Linked DNA regions of Homo sapiens: all the other regions are linked to region 2. The links are contacts of gene promoters, found by promoter capture Hi-C in human tissues and cell types (Jung and others, 2019). All regions are on one chromosome and are shown on one strand. Each heading gives the region's core, a stretch centred on a gene start or on the middle of the fragment in contact. The rest is flanking DNA. Distances are from core to core; before and after follow the strand shown. Region 1 overlaps DGKI (diacylglycerol kinase iota). Region 2 holds the start of PTN (pleiotrophin). Region 3 overlaps PTN (pleiotrophin).

Evidence for each region. Contacts are between HindIII fragments. The study calls those that stand out against the background at their distance.
Region 1: a contact is called between a fragment that was not itself captured here and the fragment with the promoter of PTN in region 2, in 2 of the 25 tissues and cell types used here (hippocampus and mesenchymal stem cells).
Region 3: a fragment that was not itself captured here is called in contact with the fragment with the promoter of PTN in region 2 in 8 of the 25 tissues and cell types used here (H1 embryonic stem cells, adrenal gland, bladder and 5 more).

The regions. Positions count from the first base shown.
Region 1 is chr7:137,382,703-137,385,797 of GRCh38, forward strand. DGKI (diacylglycerol kinase iota) reads right to left here. Exons shown (of 33, transcript NM_001321708.2): 33 at 1-3,095. Among named protein-coding and RNA genes, the nearest start is that of PTN, 41 kb to the left of the region's middle. The HindIII fragment of the contact is 5,211 bases long and covers 1-3,095 here.
Region 2 is chr7:137,342,267-137,345,205 of GRCh38, forward strand. It overlaps PTN (pleiotrophin), which reads right to left and starts at 1,467. Exons shown (of 5, transcript NM_002825.7): 1 at 1,173-1,467. RefSeq lists promoters at 1,261-2,939, 1,261-2,006 and a cis regulatory region at 2,010-2,019. The HindIII fragment of the contact is 6,839 bases long and covers 1-2,939 here.
Region 3 is chr7:137,297,521-137,300,424 of GRCh38, forward strand. All of the region lies in intron 1 of PTN (pleiotrophin), which reads right to left. Among named protein-coding and RNA genes, the nearest start is that of PTN, 45 kb to the right of the region's middle. The HindIII fragment of the contact is 3,750 bases long and covers 1-2,904 here.

The DNA.
Region 1 (3,095 bases), core at 168-2,667, 40 kb after region 2:
TTTTTCCTTTCCTCACAACTCTGCCCCTCTTTTATGCCCCCAAACCAGAGGCAAGAAGTAGAACAAGAAAGAAGGTGGAGTAGAAGCAGGTCTTTTCTGCAAGACTCTGGATATGGATTCATTTCTTAAAATTACCTCAAGTGACTTCCTCCCTCACCCAGTCAACCTGAAATCTAGGAACTCAAGCTGTATTACAGAATTAAGGGATGATGGGCAATTAAAACTGTAATCCACCTAGACAGAAATATGACAGAAACATTAGTCTACTGATATGGGGTTAAGTCTTGTTTCATGACACAAAGTTATAGAAAGTGCCTCCATGCCTCTGTATTGGCAGAGGATATAGAATTTCCCACCCTCTTCTCCAGTCCTGACTCTACATCCCAAACAACAAATGGGTAGTAAGTAGGGGAAAGAACACTAAATCCTTTGTTTTCACTTTGACTCCTGAATCTGTGACCTTTTTGCTTTAGTAGAAACATATCTTTTTTAGGAGATTTGGGAATTGGCTAACAATTGGCAAAATTGCTAGCCAATTTCCAAATCTCCTAAATTGGCTAACAATTGGCAAAAATGCTAGCCAATTCCCAAATCTCCTAAAAAAGATATGTTTCTACTAAAGCATAGGTGTGTTTGTGTAAGCAAGGCAACTTTTTAGGGTCATGAAATCCCCGCTGCTAAGTGATTTGGGATATATTTGCAATGATGGAAGCTTTTTTAAAAAATGCCTTCATTGCTATCTAGTTGGCAGGAACCTGGGGGAAAAAAATAGGCTCAAATTGAGTTCTGTTCCAGTCTAAAATTATAGACATTTAAACCAAGAAAATCTCACAGAGTTTTTCTAGTCCAAGATCTCTCACAATTAAAGATATGCCTTTGATCTCTGAGTTAGTTGTTCAATCTTCACTTAACTACTAGAAGAAACAGTGATAACAACTTCACTGTTTTTCAGAAAGCCCAAACTGTTTTTCTGGATGCAATGTTTAGGAAAAATAAATCCTTATAAGTAATAAAGCTAACTCCTTTTCATGTGTTACTGCTCTTTTCTTTCCTTATTTTATTCTACAAATCATCTTCCCTGCAGAATTTGAAACTAACAGTCCTACTTAACCTAACTCCTCTACATATTCTTATTCCTAATCCAATTTTGTCTTCTTTCCAGATCAAACATCCTCCTTCTACATATTCACCAATCTGCCCATAAATGTCCCTTGTAAAGTATGAGATTCTGAACTGAAGGACATTTCAAGCCTGTTTGTTTTTCTCTACTTCAAATATGCCGGAATTTCCCATAGGTGTATTAAACCTCTATGTATATGACTATGTATTATCATAACACTTAGCTTGCATACCCACCCATAAACTTAGAGCAATAGAGTCTTGGATGTCAGGGCCATTTTTAACATTTTTTGTTGCAGCATTCAGAAATTATATCATCCTAATAGTGACTTCAAAGGAAGAAAAATAGGACTAACATTTTTTAAATGCTGAGAATCACAAATAAGTTAAAGAAGCCATTAACGCTCACTGTTAATTTCTTCTCTTGAAATCCACCCTGGTATGCAAACATTAGACTTTTCTTTGCTTGAACTATGTACAAGCTGACAAGCCTCTCTCCGACAGCAAAAACTCTGACTTTTTGATTTCACATTCTCCCTTATTTCTAACTCATTCTTTCCGTGGAAACTTAGGTAAACATTTTTTTTTCATGGAGGCAACTTCTATATTATGGAAATCTGAACAATTGATATAAAACATCCTTGAAGGCAATGATGGAAAATGACTTACTTAGAAAACATGTTAATATGTAATTTCTAAAGACCCAGTTCTGGCTGCAGCACTATCATTTGCTATATGAATCTGCACAGGCTGAATTCACTGCTCTGAGATTCAGTGCATTCATCTAAAATGTATTATATGCATTATTCACCTCGTTGGGGTTGTTTTGAACCCCAACTGAAGCTCAAACATGTCAATACATCATAACGCTAAAGCACTTTTTAATTCTTGAAACTGTTCTTAACAAACAGTATAGATTTGAGTTGTTTATACTGTCATAGAGTGAAAACTATATGTGTGTTTCACTAAAGGTCTGAGGGAAAAGATAATTTCAGTATTTCCCACTATCAAAGCCTCCCATTTCAGAAGGCATTTGGCTCAAAATATTGAAATTTCAAAAGTTGGGTGAAAACTTGGATCACTATTTTCTTATTTCCATGGGTAGGACCTCCCTTGTGGTTGCCACGCTGGTGGCAGAAGCCAAAGAGTTTTCCATGATTGCCTTTCATGTACATTTACTTGGCTCCCAAATACCTTACAGGCAGAATTTTCTTCTGTGGTTATACTAGATTACACTTAACTCTTAGAATATCAAACCACAGCACTTTTTTATATTGGATGGACAGTAAGACAGATTTCTAATAGAATTTTACTTGACAATGACTAAGAATACTGATCAAAATTTATAAGCTTCCAGAAGTATTTTTAATTAAATTACACCTTTTAGTATGTTTTCTTTTGACTAGCTCTTAAATTCATGCTTAGTTTAAAATTTTTTAAATGATAACTAACGGCCATTCCCCTAGATATTTTTAAAATTCTCAGTTATAAAGCAAAGTTTAACAAATCAAAAATCAAGATTTTCATGAGTTTTTAAAATAAAATCCTGCCATTCAACAAAGCCATTAAAAAATATCTTTTGAAAAATCACAGCATCTAATTTTAGCCCCCTCAAATCACATATTCCTAATCACAACACCCCTCAGAGTGGTCAGGTATCCTCTGTTTAAATGCTAACAGAGGCTGAAAGTTTATAACTGTGATATCCACTCCACTATTACATATTATTTGTACTTCATCTTCTTTATATTTAGTCAAAACCCACTGAAAACTCTGCTTATTTTTCCTAGTTCTATCCTGAGAGCTAGAATAAATCAGTCTTAGCTTTCATTTTAATAGTGTTTCTAAGTCTTGTTTTAAAATCTTAGTTTCAGATACATTTTTAGAAATCTACTATGACTCCAGTAAAATGGAAATGCAAAATATTATTCTCTTCCTACTTATGTTTTCATTGAACCAAAACATTGCTGGCTAAT
Region 2 (2,939 bases), core at 217-2,716:
CCCAGACCCCTCTCTCTAGCACACACACACGCACATGCACACGCACACACACACATCACCCCTTTCTCAAGCTGCTAAAGCAAAATGCCTGATAACTCTTAAAATGAGAGATGCTCAAGGACCGCAGCTTTAATATTTTCTCCTCTTAGCACCCCTACCCCTCCTATTTTCTGAATGTGTCCCCAAACTTACAAAGCAGCTCTTAACAGACACAAGGGTGAGTTAACACTAGAGTGTATATAAACTGCATGTGTGTGTTCCTGTGTGTGTGTGTGTGTGTGTTGTGTCACATTATGTCATGGAGAAAGGGGTGTGTGTGTATGGAGAGGAGAGAGGAGGTTTCACTTTCCATCTATTAAGAAAGGAGTTGAATACATTCCTCTCAAAAAATGTTTTCTTAACTTATTAGAAACAACAACTCAGAAACTCTAAATATCTAGTAAATTAGTAACAAATATATCCTAAATTTATGTGGGTCAAATTAAAAGTTTAAGGGTCTATGTACTGGGCAGTTCTTTAAATTTGCATTCAAATGAGAGATGGGACTCCAGGTGTGTCTTCTAAACTTTGGACCTAACCATTTCTGGAACCATTCCTGGGCTGTCAGGTGGGAAGACGGGTGCCAGTAGTTCCGTGAGAGACGTTTCATGTCAGCTAGCACTGGGAGGAACAAGCCCCCACAGCTTACCTAGAAATGCCAGCTAAGAGTCATGGGCTGACAGGCTCTGGGGCAATCAGAGAATCAGAGAGAGGCTGGGAAAATGAGAGCTGCTTGTTCAGGCTGCCTTACTTTCTTTGCACCTACCCAGCCAGAGACACACCTACTAAAGCTCCAGGTTTTACAAAAAGCAAAGATGCACTCTCCAGCCCACCCTGTCTTGCTCTCCAGCTGGTAGCTGGAACACGGTCCAAATACATGCTTAACATCACAAAAACTTCTTTCCTTTCACTTACCTAAGCACACCCGAACTAACCTAACCTGAAACCCCAAAAATATGCCTCCCTTGGCCTCTGGAGCAAGTCAGTTTTGAAAGCAGTCCTATCAGCAAAGACACCAGGCAGCCTCTCTCACCCCTACCACCATCATCTGCTGGCACCCAGAAAAGTGGCACAGGGTGAAGGCAAACTCGATCGAAGAGCCCTCCGAGAAATCGTACGTTCCTCTCACTTACTTTGAGTTGGAAACGTCCTCTCTGGCGCTCAGTCTGCCTTTGTTGCAAGGGGCGAGGTTGCTACCGCTGAGTCCAGGTACCCGGCTCGCTGCAGCTCCTGCTTGGGCCGCTGCTGCTCTCCCCGCCTTCTGGACGGATGACTCACTGGTCTCTTTCTTCCCCTCTCTCCACTTTGGATTTTCCTCTGCTCTGGGGCTCTCTTGGCGGGATTTTTGGACTGGAAGGCGGGGAACCTGATCCTGCCTTTGACTCAATTACGCCCTGACAGGGAGGGAACGGAAGGGAAATGGAGAATGGGAGGGATGAGAGGAGCGGGCCAGGAGGACGAAGGCTGGGCGAGGGAGGGAGAGCGCTTTGCACTCGAGAGCTGATTGGGAAGCTTATTAAAAGCAGAATACTCCAGGGGCAGTCTCTCCCTGCGGAGCAAGAAAACGGATTTGAACCAAGAGGCCATGAGATGGTACCTTGTTTTGTTTTTAGCAGAGACGAAACACAACATTTCTTTTCCAAACTCCACCCATGATCTATTCTTCAGATGAGTGCAAAGCCACTTTGCCAAATAGGATATTTTAAATGGACAATTGATGGCATTTTAGGTTACATTTTTGGCCCCCCACAATCCTTTAATGATATTCAGAATGGAAAAGCACTCTCTTCAAACCAGCCTCTTCTTCCACCCACGAAAGCCCTCTCTAAACACAGAGACAGTAAGGTGTCAGTCACATCTCACCTGCAAAGCACAAAATGTACAAAGTACTTTTTCTCAATTGTCACAAAGAGTGACAGACGTCTCAAAGTTCCCAATTAAGTGCTACTTACCTTTAGGGAGAGCTCTTTCCTTTTTTGGTTTCCTTGGTGCCTTTAGCAACCTATTTAGTAACATGCCTTTGACACCCAAGAATTTAGAGGATTCGTCAAAGTAGCTCAAACTCTGAGGTTTGTAAAACTTGGAGGCTGGGCTTTGCGTCTCTGGAATTGTCATTTCATTCAATACAGGAAAGACGCTAAGGCAATGCATAGGTAAATATTTATGATAAAGATGAGATAAAAGTATTGTGTAAAAGGATTAAGATGTATTATACAAATTCACCCAAACATTTTCGAAATGTAAATTTCGAGATTTTCTGCCACTTATCAGCTTTTCCTGCTCCGTGGCTAGCTCCTTTTACCTACTTTTACCTTTACTGGTCAGCTTATCATTTGATGGCGTCCTTCCCAAATTGGTTGTAAAATAGACCACATTTTTCATAATTCTGAGGTTACATCCCTTCATTTCAATTTGACAAATATTTATTAAGCAATTTGTTTACTTAGAACTATCCTTAAATCCCCAAATTAGAAGCATTGTCTTGTGGCAAGTAGTTTTTAGGGACTTGGGGCTCTTCTATTGACAGCTACCTGTAGAAATGTCCCTTGGAGAAGTTGACTGGAGCCAGACGTGGCTCTACAAACTCAATCAAGCAGTCAATCAAGCTTTTCAAAAGGAAAGGCATCAGAGATGCACTTACACACCTACAATTTATCCCCCTTCCCAAACTCTTCATATACATACCACATACAATTCTCAAATGAAATAACTAAATAAGGAAGCTGTGTTCCTTTCTCCTACACACAGGCTTCAGGTTACCTGTTTTCCTTTTGTGATTCCACTTCTGTGTGAAGCAAGCAGTGCTTGTTTTAATCAGATTTCACCTGTATAAAGTGTGGAGAAACGCACATTAGCATTTTTTTTTGGCATTTTTCCCAGTCCCTTTACCAAAAAAGATA
Region 3 (2,904 bases), core at 4-2,503, 45 kb before region 2:
AAAAGATTTACCACCTTTGGATCTGAGGTGGAAACTAGAAGGGGTCATTGTCAGAATCTACAGAGAGAAGGAGAGAGCAGCCTGAGGAACAACCTCTAAATACACACAACAACAACAACAAAACAGGCAATGAGGGAGAGAAATAAATAGCCCAGGCGCATTCTTATCCAACACTTTGAATTCCCGACAGTTCCTCCATTGGCCAAAGCAAAGCAGAAGGCAGACGGCAAACGAATCTATTGATTTTTCCATGAAGGTCAGCCTCCTGATAGAGCAGAATAAAGGAGGTAGGAGAGTAGAGCTGGAGGTGCAAATAGAAGATATCCAGAAGAGCTGATAAGTTAGATCAAGAAGATATCCAAGGGGCTAGAAGCTTTCCAAAGTGGGCAGGAATGGGGAATGTTTCCAGGTGTCGTTTACCGTCTGCACTCACTAACCCTGTCACAAGCTTGTTCCACATCTAACTCTTATTGTTCACGTGTCAGAAATAGCTCACTCTGCAAGAACAGAGACCAGAAGCTGTCCTACTGAGTTCCAACATAAAGTACCTGGGTCAAGGATTAAGGAGCAAGAATTGATAAAATATAGATCCACACGCAACTTTAAGAGCCTGTAAGGATTCTTAAGTATAAAAACATTATTGTTTCTAATCTTGAATTTTTGACAGTCCTGAGGTTTGTGTTAATCCAAATTTTGATTAAATTTTGATTGAACTAATCCTCAAATCTGTATTCATTAGTTCGGTAAATATGCTTTAGATTTTCTTTTTCTTTTAACTTAGCCAAATATTGACCTGAAACTGTCCAAAAGTTTACTGAGTTTCTGATTAAATATTAAACAGAAAAATGACTCCAAGCTATTTAGTGTAGTAGTTTCTCTAATGTGGAAATTTATTTTTTTTCAAATTTTATGATCCTTCCACAGGTTTTAACATAAAAATAACTAAAGCATTATAAACCTCTTATAATTCATGTCAAAAAATGCATGGGCACTGGGTGGCTAGTCACTGAGACACAGTGAGATCTGGTCAAAATTCTGTGCACACTCTTGGTGGCTCAGCACACCGTATTGAGAACAGACTGTTTCCATAGAGGCTCTACTTTATTCCTAGCTCTGTTGCCTATAATTATTGTAAAGCAGGACTATTTCCTGCCTTCCTGCCCAAAATAGAAGGAAGCATCCAACTCTGTCAACTCCCTTTGCTCTTGGCATCACCTCTCAACAGGGGTTAGGGTTTCCTGCCAGGAATTTCAAAAACAGTAACTGTTTTGGTTTCTTATCCAAAATTCAACTTGCGAGCAAAGAAATGGAGCAAGATCTATAATATAGCCAGGGATTCAGAGAAATTACATGTCTTTAGGCCTGGTTAATAGCACCAAGCCGGGGCTAGACTCATTGTGAGAATCAGTTCCAGGTAAGACTTGGTGAGCTTTGGAGTAATTGGGAGCAATTGAACACTCTAAAGAGTGTTTTATTAAGTACCGATAGCAAAGAAAATATTCGTTACCCCTGGGGTTTAATGAAAAATTGCACTGAGCATTCCTACACACTTCCTCTATGGACCCATGCTACGTTTCCATGGGCACATTGCATTCACAGCCAGAATACTGTTCAACACTAATATGCCTAGCCCTACCTCCAGCCTTTGGTAGTTCCCGAGGTCACGTCCTTTAGTCATCCAGTGCCTAAAATGAATGTTGTCTAACTACAACAAAACTCTCAACTATCACAGCTAACATTAACTGGATTTTGTTGTTGTCAATGGTGGTGGTTATTCCTTTGGGCTCTAGGCATAATACTAAATGTTTTATATGCTTGTATCTCAGTTAATTTTACTATAAGTCCATTAGGGGATGACCGTTAGTCCCCATTTTACAAATGGGGAAACTGAGTTTTAGAAAGATCCAGTCATTAGGCCAGGTTCATAAGGAACAGAGCTAGGGCTTAAAGTAGGCAGTGCTGCACTACTCCCCATAAGGTCCCCATGGTACGCCCCTCTGAGACCATTTAATGGCACAGTGCAGAATAAAAAGAAGCTTTCCTCATGACACCACCAAATATGAGGGGCAGTTATTTCCAAAGAGGAGGCAGAAAGTGCTAAAAACCATGCTCTGGTATGAAAGACACACTTCCATCAAATGTGTAAGCTTTAACTTTCAAGAGAGACCGTTTCCTGACTCCTCACCCCTATGCCTGCCCTTGTGAAAGAGACAAACATCTTTGTCTCTTCTGATTGTACACTCCCGGTTTTTGTTTCTGTGCTTGAGAATCAGCCCTAAAGAATTAAGATCTGACTCTTTTGCCAGAGACCCTGTCCTGACCCTAGAATCATGGTAGCCCCCAGGTAAGAGGCATTACTCATTCAAAAGGCCAGGGAAGACCCAAATCCTCATACATGCCAAATACTCAAAAGTCCCCTTCATTGGGTCTAGGTTTAAAATTCTTTCACGGAAAGCCTATGGCCTTTCATCCCAAGTCTTTGGGCTAAGCACATGAGGAAGAAAAGCCCAAGATGAAGTGGCTGCCCGCCATGGGAGCAATGTCACTTCTCTCTTTACAACACTAATCTTTCTTTCTCGGTGGGTAGATAGATGATAAATACATGAACAGGTAGATGGATAGAACATTGATATTACATTAAAATTCACAATTTAAACATTTTTATATCTTTTACCCCATTTGACTCAGAATTTTGTGACCATCAGAGTGGCCTTAGGGCCTAAGGTACAGGTGGTTGATTCTAGCAGCGTAATTTGAGAAGCATAAAAATTCATCAGCTATTTCAAATGAACTTAATTTTCTCTTAGTTCTTCATGCATTCATTCTTATGGATATTTATCAAGTGCTTTGTAGGTGTCAGCCCAGGTGCTAGGGACCAGAGACAGAGCAAAACACAGTGCAGTA